3 separate regions of the Homo sapiens genome follow, and regions 1 and 3 are each linked to region 2. The links are contacts of gene promoters, found by promoter capture Hi-C in blood cells and fetal thymus (Javierre and others, 2016). All regions are on one chromosome and are shown on one strand. Each heading gives the region's core, a stretch centred on a gene start or on the middle of the fragment in contact. The rest is flanking DNA. Distances are from core to core; before and after follow the strand shown. Region 1 holds the start of ACACB (acetyl-CoA carboxylase beta). Region 2 holds the start of SSH1 (slingshot protein phosphatase 1). Region 3 overlaps SART3 (spliceosome associated factor 3, U4/U6 recycling protein).

The links. Contacts are between HindIII fragments. The CHiCAGO score rates a contact against its expected background, and 5 or more counts as called.
Region 1: the fragment with the promoter of ACACB here is called in contact with the fragment with the promoter of SSH1 in region 2 in 4 of 17 cell types (activated CD4 T cells, non-activated CD4 T cells, naive CD8 T cells and 1 more); the score reaches 7.3 in activated CD4 T cells.
Region 3: a fragment that was not itself captured here is called in contact with the fragment with the promoter of SSH1 in region 2 in 4 of 17 cell types (neutrophils, non-activated CD4 T cells, total CD8 T cells and 1 more); the score reaches 8.5 in neutrophils.

The regions. Positions count from the first base shown.
Region 1 is chr12:109,114,181-109,118,015 of GRCh38, forward strand. ACACB (acetyl-CoA carboxylase beta) reads left to right here and starts at 2,407. Exons shown (of 53, transcript NM_001093.4): 1 at 2,407-2,524. The HindIII fragment of the contact is 11,769 bases long and covers 1-3,835 here.
Region 2 is chr12:108,855,712-108,859,734 of GRCh38, forward strand. It overlaps SSH1 (slingshot protein phosphatase 1), which reads right to left and starts at 1,872. Exons shown (of 15, transcript NM_018984.4): 1 at 1,717-1,872. The coding sequence starts at 1,785. RefSeq lists enhancers at 568-1,069, 1,122-1,171 and a silencer at 1,602-2,341. The HindIII fragment of the contact is 10,101 bases long and covers 1-4,023 here.
Region 3 is chr12:108,549,306-108,553,412 of GRCh38, forward strand. All of the region lies in intron 1 of SART3 (spliceosome associated factor 3, U4/U6 recycling protein), which reads right to left. Among named protein-coding and RNA genes, the nearest start is that of SART3, 9.8 kb to the right of the region's middle. RefSeq lists a silencer at 1-40. The HindIII fragment of the contact is 3,753 bases long and covers 1-3,528 here.

The DNA.
Region 1 (3,835 bases), core at 1,157-3,656, 260 kb after region 2:
CAGGCTAGGGAACCAGTTTTTAAGTTTTTGAAATATGCTTGGAAATATAAATATTGGTGAGCGGAGCAGACCAGGAGATCAATAATTTATGTTCTCTGCTTGTTAGTTGTGTATATAGCATGTTCTTTTGTCTCTCTTAATGATGTTTGGGGTGAGGGTGTGGGAGAGGAAGGTAGGGAGCCTTCCAACAAGAAGCTAGTGCTCCTCCAGCCTAGAGAAGCTAAAACATGCAAAGCCAGACCCCATCCCTGGAAATTCTGATTTAATTGGTGGGGGAAGGCATGTGAATTCTCACAGAGGGTCCGGTTTGCAGCAGGACTGGTGATTTCTTTCCAGGTGCCTTGTTTTGTTAGACCATGTGGTCACTTAATAATTTTTTTTGGGCCAGGTACAGTGGCTCATACCTGTAATCCCAGTGCTTTAGGAGGCAAGGCAAGAAGATCGCTTTAGGCCAGGAGTTCAAGACCAACTTGGGCAACATAATGAGACCTTGTCTTTAAAAAAAAAAAATTTTTTTTTTTTTAATTAGCCAGGGGTGGTGTGTGCCTGTAGTTCTAGCTACTTGGGAAGCTGAGGCAGGAGGATCATTTGAGCCCAGGAGTTCGAGGCTGCAGTGAGCTATGATCATGCCACTGCACTCCATCCAGCCTGGGCAACAGAGCAAGATCCTATTTCTAAAACAAAACAAAACAAAACAAAAAATGTAACTTGATACCTGTGACTTTCTGAAACTAACAGCTGTTTGAAGAAATATATTTCTATTACCGTTCTTGTGTTTGATGGAAAGAGTTTATGAATAACTTTGGTTTCAAGCCTTCCAATTATATTCTGGAAAATACCTGTGTCTTAAAGAGATAGTGTCTAGGGAGAACTGAATCACTGCAGAGTTCTTCACCTGTATGTGTGGGTATGTCTAGTCTTTTTGCAAGTAATGAATTTCATTAGAAAGATATTAAGTGCTTGTCATGAGCAAGCCCCTGTGCCAGAAACTCAATATAAATCATTTCATTTTCTCACCCATATGGTGAAGTAGTTGATGAGGACACTGAAGCTCAGCCATTTGCTCAAAGTCATGGCTAATGGAGGGAGGATTCAAACCCACATCAGCTTGATTTCAAAGCCTAATAGTCCTGCCACTGTCAACACCCTGCCTAGATCATGATTATTTGGAATCACTGGGAAAGAATTTTTTTTTCATGAAGTTAGAAGCCTAAGAATTTTTTTCAATGGAATTTTATAAAAATGTCCTTGAATCACAGATGGCTCTCCCTGGAAACATAGGTTTGTTTGAGAGTCACCTCTTTTATTGTCTTAATAAATAGACTAAGAGCCATCACAAGGGCTACTGTGGCTAGAGAACATATGACTCGGGCCGGGCATTGTGCAGGCATTTGACCTGCATTCCTTCACCCCGGTTCCTGTAACATGTACCTGGTGCTGTGGGGTTACAGCTGATAATGCTGAGGTTTCCAGAGCACATGCTTCCAAGTCCAGTGGAGAAAATCCCAAGAAGTCCAATATTCAATGACTGTTCCTTATTGCAAAATAAGCCCAGAAACAAAGTAGCTGTGAACAGGCTGCACCAGCCCCAGCAGCAATTTCCATTTAAACCATTTTGCACAGATCCCGTGCTCAGCGCTCTCGCCAGTTTCTCCACTTGCTGTTTAGTAAGGCCATCATTGTTGGCAGGAAGTGGGTTCCACCTTCCCTGTTGCCTGAGCACAATGTGCTCCTATGTGGTCTCCACTTTCCTGCTGCCTAGTTGGCTGGGCTTCTCCAGCTGGGCCTTGGAGGCGACCTTTGTCCCACATGCCAGCCCTCCCCACGTTGCAGAACACTATGTAACTGCAGCGTGTGCTGAATTTCCTCTTCTGTGCTCAACCCTAGCAAGAGCCAGTCAACCCTGAATGAGAATGTGGCAATGGAGCTGTTTTTTTCTTTTATCCCCAAGTCACAAGAAATTGGAAACATTCCATTAAGTGGCGTGATTTGAGAGGGTTTCGCCAAATCTTTTCAGGGGAGAGAAGCCAGGTGACCTGATAGCGATCACCTTCCCATTCACGGTTTTCAATGGGGGCTTGTTTCTCAAATGACCAACACCTGTAGGCAGTTAATTTTCAGCATGTCACAGGAGGGCCCAGATGACTTTCTGCCTACTGCTTACGACAACATGGACTTTAGATGCCTCATGGCTTCAACAGCTAAGAATTATGAAATAAAGCGAGTTATGGGATTAAAAGGCAGATAGCAGAACTCTCCCAGGAGTAGCCAGGGCTGCACAAGTGGTTTGACGTGGGATCTTTCTCATCTTTGCCCCGGGTTGTTGCTGCTTTGAAGGTTAAGTGCTCCAGGGATATTTTTAAACAGCAGGGGCTGATTAATCTAAAAGTGACATTTGCAGTCCCCAGAGTAAGCAGCTAGCAGGCTTAGATTCAGGCCCTCAGCAAACAAGGAACCTGGAAAATGTAACCCTGAATGCACGGTGGGGAGGACATGGCAAGAGAAAAGCGGCAGGAATAAAGTGGTAAGTCAGCTCGCCCCTCCCCGGGGTCCGGACCATTCTGCCAACGTCCAGGTAAATTCGAACCCAATGTATAGTGAGAGCAGACCCTGTCTGAAGGCATGCACTTGGGGTCCCCGGGGAAAAACGACTCCCGTCATGTTTGAAGGAAGCTAATCAGAAGAGCTCGAAATGTAACGCAGATGAAAGAGAAGGGCCTTTCTTTGCTTCTATAAATGGTGGTGTGGATCCCTGGACATGCTCCCATATAAGTTCCACAACGTTTTATAAACAATTCTGTTTTTTGCCTCCAAAGCTACTGTCTTAAGGAATAGTATTCTGTTTCTGTTTCCTCAAATGGTTGTTCTTTTTTTTTTTTTTTTTTTTTTTAAAGCAGACTAAGGCTGGGCACGGTGGCTCATGCCACCCAGCACCTTGGGAGGCAGAGGCAGGTGGATCACTTGAGGTCAGGAGTTCGAGACCAGCCTGGCCAACATGGCGAAACCCCATCTGTACTAAACACATAAAAATTAGCCAGATGTGGTGATGGGCACCTGTAATCCCAGCTACTTGGGAGGCTGAGGCAGGAGAATCGCTTGAACCCAGGAGGTGGGGGTTGCAGTGAGCTAAAATTGCGCCACTGCATTCCAGCCTGACTGACAGAGCAAGACTCTGTCTCAAAAAAAAAAAAAAAGAAAAGAAAAAGAAAAAAAGGAGACTAAGAGTAAAGCGTTTGTAGTGGTCCTATATCCTATATTTCTAGGAAGACATGACTTTCTTTCAATGTTGAAAAAATGCATTCCAAAATAATATGCAAGTTAAAAAGTCACTCAGCACCGTGCAAAAGTCTCCTTGCTGTTATTCCTGTCTAACCCTCCTCCTCCAGGTAGCCACTGTGCACATTTTGGTATAAACCCCCCAGACCTTTTATTCTGTACACTCACACTGTACACAACTCTCTCCCTCATGTCTATTGTGATTACTTTTATTTTTTAATATCAATGGGCATCCATATAGGTTGGGTGACCAACCATCCCACTTTGCCCAGGACCGGGGAATTCCCGGGACATGGGACTTGCAATTTAAAAACTGAAAGGTGAAGATATTATTATTATCATTATTATTTGAGATGGAGTGCTCACTGCAAGCTCCGCCTCCTGGGTTCACGCCATTCTCCTGCCTCAGCCTCCCAAGTAGCTGGGACTACAGGCACCCACTACCACGCCCGGCTAATTTTTTTTGTATTTTTAGTAGAGACAGGGTTTCACTGTGTTAGCCAGGATGGTCTCGATCTCCTGACCTCAAGTGATCCGCCCGCCTCGGCCTCCCAGAGTG
Region 2 (4,023 bases), core at 622-3,121:
CCTCCTCGCTGTGGGAAGGAAAGGCGCTCCTGCAACCTAACTTCTCAGTAGCAGGCTATTGATCGCCAGTGTTCTTTTGCCTCTAATCAGCGTGTAGAGGGGGATTACTAGAACCTTCTGTGTATAGATAACTCATGAATGGCCTCTCCTCTCCAAGGAGGGGGCTGTGAAGGTTCAACTTCCCAGCCACTCTGAAAATGTCCCTGCCAATCCCAGCAAAACAAGGCTGAAGAACTACCCTACCAGGAGACAGGGCTGTCAAGCCAAATGCAAACATTATTCTCTTGTCTCTCTCAGACACACAAACCTCCCCCGTGTTATCAGTCAACTTCCCCCACTCCCTCCCACAAAGAAAGGGGCTGAAGAGCCCAGATGCTGGCTGCGGAACTTCCTGGGCCTGGGACCGCAGGGCCGCTCCTCCAGTCTTCTCTAAACACAGCTAAGGGTCTGCAGGCGGACACTCAGCCTTGTTATAGGTAAGAGTTTAGACCAGAGGCCTTGACGGGTTCTTCAAGAGATGGTGGGCAAGATTGCGCGACCAGAGGGTCATCCCTGCAGCTACAGAGGGCTGACCTGCTCAGAGGCCCAAGGCCCCAGCCTAGGACAAGCCAGGCCAACCCTGCAGGCTAAGAGGGCAACAGTGCCCTCAATCAACCCCAGAGGAAAAAGTGGCCAGGCAAACGGACCTGGGCCACACACAGACCCACAAAAACGCGCACAGTGCCAGGACACGCAACCCAGGAATGCACCTATGCAATCACCCAGAATGGGTCACAGCCACACAGAAAGATAGATGCACATAAACACACAGGCCTGAGTGATGTTACAGAAAGGAAAAGCCAGACTAAGGCTGCACGCACAGACGTGAAACACAGCCACACAGAGCCCACAGCACGCTCGGTCACCGTCACACAGTGACACGGGCACGCCTACAGACAGAACTCCAGAGGCGGCAGGCGGGGAAACAATCTCACACGTTTGTAGGGGCACTCCCAGATGCCTGTCTCACGCTGGCACAGTCCCCGGACGGCAGGTCAGCAACAGTCACATCTCACATCGCACAGCCAGGCATACAGGCAAAGGGCCTAGAACTACCCCGGCCACAGGTCTCAGAACCAGCGGCTCACGCAGTCACCCAATCAAGGGTCCCAGTTGCACATCCAGTCACCCCTGGACCCTGGTCACACTGCAGAGTCACTCACAAATGGGAGTCCCGACAGACGCACAGTCCTCCCCAGACAGAGGTCAACCCAAGATGGGGGTCACACCTGAAATCACAGTCCCCACACAATCACGAGGTCACATCTGCACACACAGTCTCTGCACAGTCACCCTTAGGGGTCACAACGCACACAGTCTCCGCCTAACAGGGGTCACCCCAAGATGGGGGTAACCCCCTGATGTGGGTCACAGCGCACACACAGTATCCTGCAGACACTCCCAGAGGGGTCGCACTGCATACACAGTCCCTGCAAAGTCGCCCCCCGATAGGGGTCACACCGCACACAAAGTCCCCGCACAGCTCCCCAAGACAGGGTCACATCGCACACAGTCCTCGCACGGTCACCCCGGTCCGGCTGCCCGGCTCTGTTCCTACGGCGGGGCCCCGAGGAGCCCGCGCAGCCGCCCCCCTGCCCCGCACGCGCGGCCCCAGCTCCGGCGGCCTCGGCGCGGCGTCCGGCGGCCCAGGCCGGGCGCGGCGAGCCCGGGGCTCACCTCGCTGTTGCTGGCCGAGGAGGAGGCGGCGCTGGGCGTGGGCGAGCGCTGCAGGGTCACCAGGGCCATGGCTGCGGCGCGGTGCGAGGGCGCCACAGACGTCTCGAGCTAGAGCCGCCACCGCCACCGCCGCCCGGGCCGGGCCCGGGGCCTCCTGGAGCCGCGCGCGGGCGGCCGGGCCGAGCCGGGCCGGGCCCGCCCCTCCCCCTCGGCGTCGCCACCGCCCCCGCCCCCAGCTCCCGCCTCCCGCGCCGGCGCGCGCAGGCCTCAGTGCGCGGAGTGGGCGGGGAAGCGGGCAGGGCGGGACGAGGAGGCGCGCGTGCGCGGGGGCCCTGAGGGCTGCCCGAGGCCTCGGCTGGTCGATCACGTCCCTCGCGCGCCCGACACACGCGCCCCCGCCCGCGCGCCCCGCTATCAGGCCTGGGACTCGGGGGCGCGCGCGCCGCCCGGAGCCCGTACGCCCCAGGGGCCCTGCCCGCTGCTCTGCCTGGGGAAACTGAGGCCCGGCGACCGTGCAGACAGGACTGTACAGCGACCAGGAAATAAAAGACGTCCTGGGGCCGGGCGCGGTGGCTCACGCCTGTAATCCCAGCACTTTGGGAGGCTGAGGCGGGCGGATTACGAGGTCAAGAGATCGAGACCATCCTGGCCAACATGGTGAAACCCCGTCTCTACTAAAAAGACAAAAATTAGCTGGGCGCAGTGGTGCGCGCCTGTAGTCCCAGCTACTCGGGAGGCTGAGGCAAGAGAATCGCTTGAATCTGGGAGGCGGAGGTTGCAATGAGCTGAGATCGCGCCACTGCACTCCAGCCTGGGCGACAGAGCGAGACTCGGTCTCAAAAAAACAAAAAACAAAAAACAAAAACAGTAAGCAAAATAGATTCGCCTGATTTTGCAGAGGTTAATCAAGTTATTAGGCACGTTTTTAAAAAAGTATTTTGCTAATCTTTTTCAATGAATTCTTTCTGGGTGTTCTGAAACCCAGCCAACTCCTTGGAGGTCAGGGAAGGCTTCCCAGAAGAGCTTTATTCTGAGGCTTGGGCTTGAGCATAAGCAGGATTAACAGGTGAAAGAACAGAGAGACAGCTCTCCAAGCAGGGGGGATCAGCGTGCCCTGAAGCAGGAAGAAGTTTGTCAACCGGAGGCCAGCACTCAGGGAAGGGAAGAGGGGAGGAATGGCTGGAGTCTCCATCCTCTCTGGAAAGATCGCTCCGGCTGCTGCGTGGATGAGGGACCACGGGGCAGAGGGCTGAGGGAGACCAGGGAGGAGGCTGCTGCTGTTGTCCCGGGGAGAGGTGACCAGTTATGGGGATGGAGAGGGGAACATGGAATAAGATACCAAGAAGGCAATTCTGGCTTGACTTAGTAGTAGGAAACTTTTCTTTTAGCCAAAATCTCATCTCCCGGCTCCCACCCCCAACCTCTGCATGTTGCACAAGCACTCGCAAACGCAGTGGTCCCAGCCTGCCCCGCAGCTTAGCAAATTTGTCTTACTGCCCAACAGGAAACCCACGCAGCCTCCTGGATTCTTCCCCGTCCCTCCCTCTGTCCTGGGGCTGTGACCTCCTCCATGTTATTCACAGGGTCTCAGCACGATTCATCTCAAAGGTGATTCTAGTGGGGGGCACTGTAGCTTCTACGGAGCGTTTCTAAGAGGGGATTTGTGGGAATGTTTGTGGTTGTCTTGCTGATGGAGGGGGAGAGCTCCTGGCATTTAGAGTGCAAGAGCCTTGGATGCTAAATGTCTTCCAATGCACTGGACAGTCTCCCCAACAAGAATTGCTCCATTCCCACAAAATGTTTCCTGGGTGAAAAACCCATTTATAGTAATTTGAAGCCAGAACCTAACTCCATTTCATGCATCAACACTAGTCTTCCTTCCTTCCTTCCTTCCTTCCTTCCTTCCTTCCTGCCTTCCTTCCTTCCTTCCTCTCTTTCTCTCACTTTTTTTCTGAAACAGGGTCTCACTCCCGTCACCCAGGCTGAAGTGCAATGTCACAATCATAGCTCACTGCAGCCTCCATCTCCCAGGCTCAAATCATCCTCCTGCTTCAGTCTCCTGAGTACAACGGGTACACACCACCACACCCAGCTCCTTTAAAAAAAAAGTTTAACTATGTTGCCCAGGCAATCCTCCTGCTTCCGCCTTCCAAAGTGCTGGGATTACAGACAGAAGCCACCATGGCTAGCCTGGTATTTTTTACTGAATTTTCAGAAAGGTGACTATGTTGAAACCCTGTCTCTCCTAAAAATACAAAAAATTAGCCAGGCATGGTGGCGGGCACCTATAATCTCAGCTACTCAGGA
Region 3 (4,107 bases), core at 402-2,901, 310 kb before region 2:
CAAACAAAATAAACGTGCTATCTGAGAAAACCACTGAAACAGCAACCCAGCACGTACCCACAGGTAGAAGACAAAACAATAAAAGAGGCTTTTGTAACAAACATAAAGCTCCCTCAAATCTGTTACAGTTCCTGTTAGAAGACATTTGGGTTCTCTTGGAAATAAAGGAGGCATTCTAATGAAACAAATAAAAAGTATGTGACCTTAGGTAAGTTATTTACTTTCCTAAGCTCTATTTCCTCATCTATAAAATGAGGACACTACTAGTTTCTAGCTCATACCAGGTCTTCCAAGGATTTAAAAAATTTCTACTGTTACACTGGTCTTTAAGAAAAACTAAAAAATAAAAAGGTAATTTCATAACGTCCTTTAGCACATGTGAGGTACACTGTAAGACCTCTTTTATTTTACTAAATAAAAAAGATGGAAGCCAGTTGTGGTGGCTCACATCTGTGATCCCAGCACTTTGGGAGGCCGAGGCAGGTGGATTGCTTGAGCTCAGGAGTTCGAGACCAGCCTCAGCAACACAGTCAAACCCTATCTCTACCAAAAATACAAAAAATTAGCCAGACATGGTGGCATGCACCTGTGGTCCCAGCTACTTGGGAGGCTGAAGTGGATCACCTGAGCCTGGGAGACAGAGGTTGCAGCGAGCCGAGACCACACCACTGCACTCTAGGCCTGGGTGACAGAGCAAGACCCAATCTCAAAAAAAAAAAAAAAAAAAAAAAGATAGAAATCCCTATTAGAGAAACAAGAGTGGCAGCAGGTTGGTATCTGTTGATGCTGAGTGACAGGTACATAAAGTTTTATTTGTACATTTGAAACTTTTCAAACTAAAATTATTTTAAGTTACCATATATCTGAGACAAAGAAAAATGAAAAAAATGTCACTAGCAGACCTACCCTTGAAGAATAGCTAAAGGAAGTTCTTCGAACAGAAAAGTTAGAAGAAGGAATCCTAAAGCATCAAAAAGGAAGAAAGAACAGGAAGAGCAGAAATACGGGAACTACGACAGATTATCCTCCTCTCCTCATGAGCTTTCTAAATCATATGTAATGGAACAAACATTGTAAGAACTTCTGATACCCAACACAGTATTATTTAAAAGTGGGGATGGAAAGAGAACTGAAATGGAAGATTCCCTCACTTCATTCAAGTGGTAAAACACGGATACCATGTAAGTCAACTCCGTATATTTTAATACCCAAAGCAACCACTGAGAAAACTATTCAAAGCAATTACACTAAAAATCACCTTAAATAAATCAAGATGGCTGGGCATGGTGGCTCACACCTGTAATCCCAGCACTTTGGGAGGCCAAAGCGGGCAGATCATGAGGTCAGGAGTTCAAGACCAGCCTGGCCAACATGGTGAAACCCTGTCTCTACCAAAAAATACAAAAAATTAGCTGGGTGTGGTGGCACATGCCTGTAGTCCAGCTACTCAGGAGGCTGAGACAGGAGAATTGCTTGAACCCGGGAGGCGGAGGTTGCAGTGAGCAGAGATCCAGCCTGGGTGACAAAACAAGGCTCCATCTCAAAAAAATAAATAAATAAATCAAGATGAAAATCTAAAAAATATTCAAATAATCCACAGAAAGGCAAGAAAGGAGAAACAGAAGAATGAGAAACAGAAAATAAACAGAAAATAGTAAAACGGCAGGCTTTGGTCTGAATAAACCAACAATTGCCTTAAATGCGAATGGTGCATATATGCTAATTAAAAGGTAGATAATGGTAGAGTGGATAAAAACACAACCCAACTATATGGTGAGTACAAGAAATTCATTTCAAATTCAAAGACACAGGTAAACTGGTTGAAAGGAAAAGGAGAGAAAAAGATAACATGCAAGCATTAATTAAAAAGTTGAAGCGGACATATTAATATCACATAACGTACACTTCAGAGCAAAGAAAATTACTAGAGATAAAAAGGATTATATAATGACACATAATAATAAATAGATCAATCTACCAGGAAGACATAACAATCCTAAATGTGTAGGAACCAAAGAGCGCTTGAAAATTCATGAAGCAAAAACTATTACAGAGCTCAAAGAGACACAGCAGCAATTACATTTGGCAACTTCAACATCTCCCTTTTCAGCAACTGATAAAACTACTAGACACTTGAATATGTTGAACCTGGTCAAAAAGAAGATGAATAAAAGAAAAAGAAAATTAGACAAAAGCAAATTAAAAAATTTTTAAGTTTTTAAAAAGAAAGGAAATTGTTTAATTTTTTTTTAAACTAGGCAGAACAGGGTTATAGAAGAACTCAATAACGCCGTCAACGAACATGACCTAATTTATATAGAGAACAGCCCACCCAACAATACAGAATATGTATTTTTCTCAAGTACTTACGGAACATTCACTGAAGCCATATCCTTGGCCATAAAACAAACCTCAACAATTTAAGAGAAATGAAAACCATGCAGAGTATGTTTTGTGACCACAATGGAATCAAATTAGAAACCACTAACAGTAAGAAAATCTCTGAACACGTGAAAATTAAGTAATACACTTCTAAATAATCTGCAGGTCAAAGAGGAAGTCTCCAAGAAAATTTACAAATTAAAAAAAGTGAATGAAAATGAAATTGCAACAAATCAAAATAAGTAGGATGCTACTAAAACAGTACGGAGGAAAATTTAAAGAACTAAATTCAGTGTATAAGAAGAATTATACACCATGACCAAGTGGTATTTATTCCAGGTTTGCAAGGCTAATTCAACATTTAAAAATCAATTACTGTAATCCAGTGTATCAAAAGGCTAAAGAAAACTCATGGTATCAATAGATGCAGAAAATGCATGTGACAAAATCCAACAACGATTCATGGTTAAAACACTCAGCATGTTAGGAATAGAGGGAAACAACCTCAACCTGATAAAGAGCATCTATAAAAAATCTATCCCATAAGTTGGGATATAGGGTTACCTTAACATCATTCCTAATGGTAAAAGATTGAACACTTTCCTCCTAAAATCAAGAACAAGGCAAGGATGTCTGCTCTCACCACTCTTTTCCAACAAAGTCCTATAAGTTCTAGCCTGTTCAATAAGACAAGGAAAAGAAATAAAAGCTATACAGCTCGGAAAAATAAAACTGTCCTGATTTGTAGATGATATGGCTAAGTAGACAATCTTAAGGAACCAATTAAAAAAAAAAAAAACTCCAAAAATAGTGAACTGAGCAAGGTCACAGAATATAAGATAAACATACAAAAACAAAAAAAAAAACAAAAGAACATGTGGAAACCAAATTTAAAGACATAGCACCATTTACAATCACTCCAAAAAACCTAAATAATTAGGTGTATATTTAAAAAGTTTACAAAATCTGTATGCTGAAAATTACAAAATGCTGAGGAAAGAAATCAAAGACCTAAAAAAAGAGACACTTCATGTTCATGGATTGAAAAACTCAACATAGTCAAGAAGTAAATTCTCCCTAAACTGACTTACAGGCTTACTGAAACTCCAATTAAAATCCCAACAAGGTTTTTTGTAGACCTAGACAAGCTTATTCTAAAATGTATATGGGATGGCAGAGGCCCTAGAATAGCTAAAAATGATCTTGAAAAAGAATAAAGTGGGAGTAATCACTCTACCTGATTGATACTAAAACCTACAATACAGCTACAATCATCAAGGCAGTGTGAGAATGGCAGAAAGATACATAGATGAAGAGAATAGAACCCAGTAACAGACCCACACAAATATGCCCAAATAATTTTTGACAAACGCAATGCAACAGAGGAAAAAAAAAGGCATTTTCAAAAAATGATGCTGGAGCAAATGGATATCCACAGGCAAAACAAATAAATACACCTTGACCTAAACTTCACGCCTTACAGAAATAACTCAAAATGGATCACACTTAAATGTGAAATGTAAATATAACATCACAAAATGTTAGGACAAGAGAAAAATTTCAAGGCAACATCAAGGATCCTTAAGGTGACAGAACTGATCTGTATCTTGACTATATCAATGTCAATACCCAGGTTATTACATATTATAGTTCCTCAAAGTGTTATCATTGAGGGAAACTGGGTAAAAAGTACACGAAAAATCTCTATTATTTCTTACAAGTGCA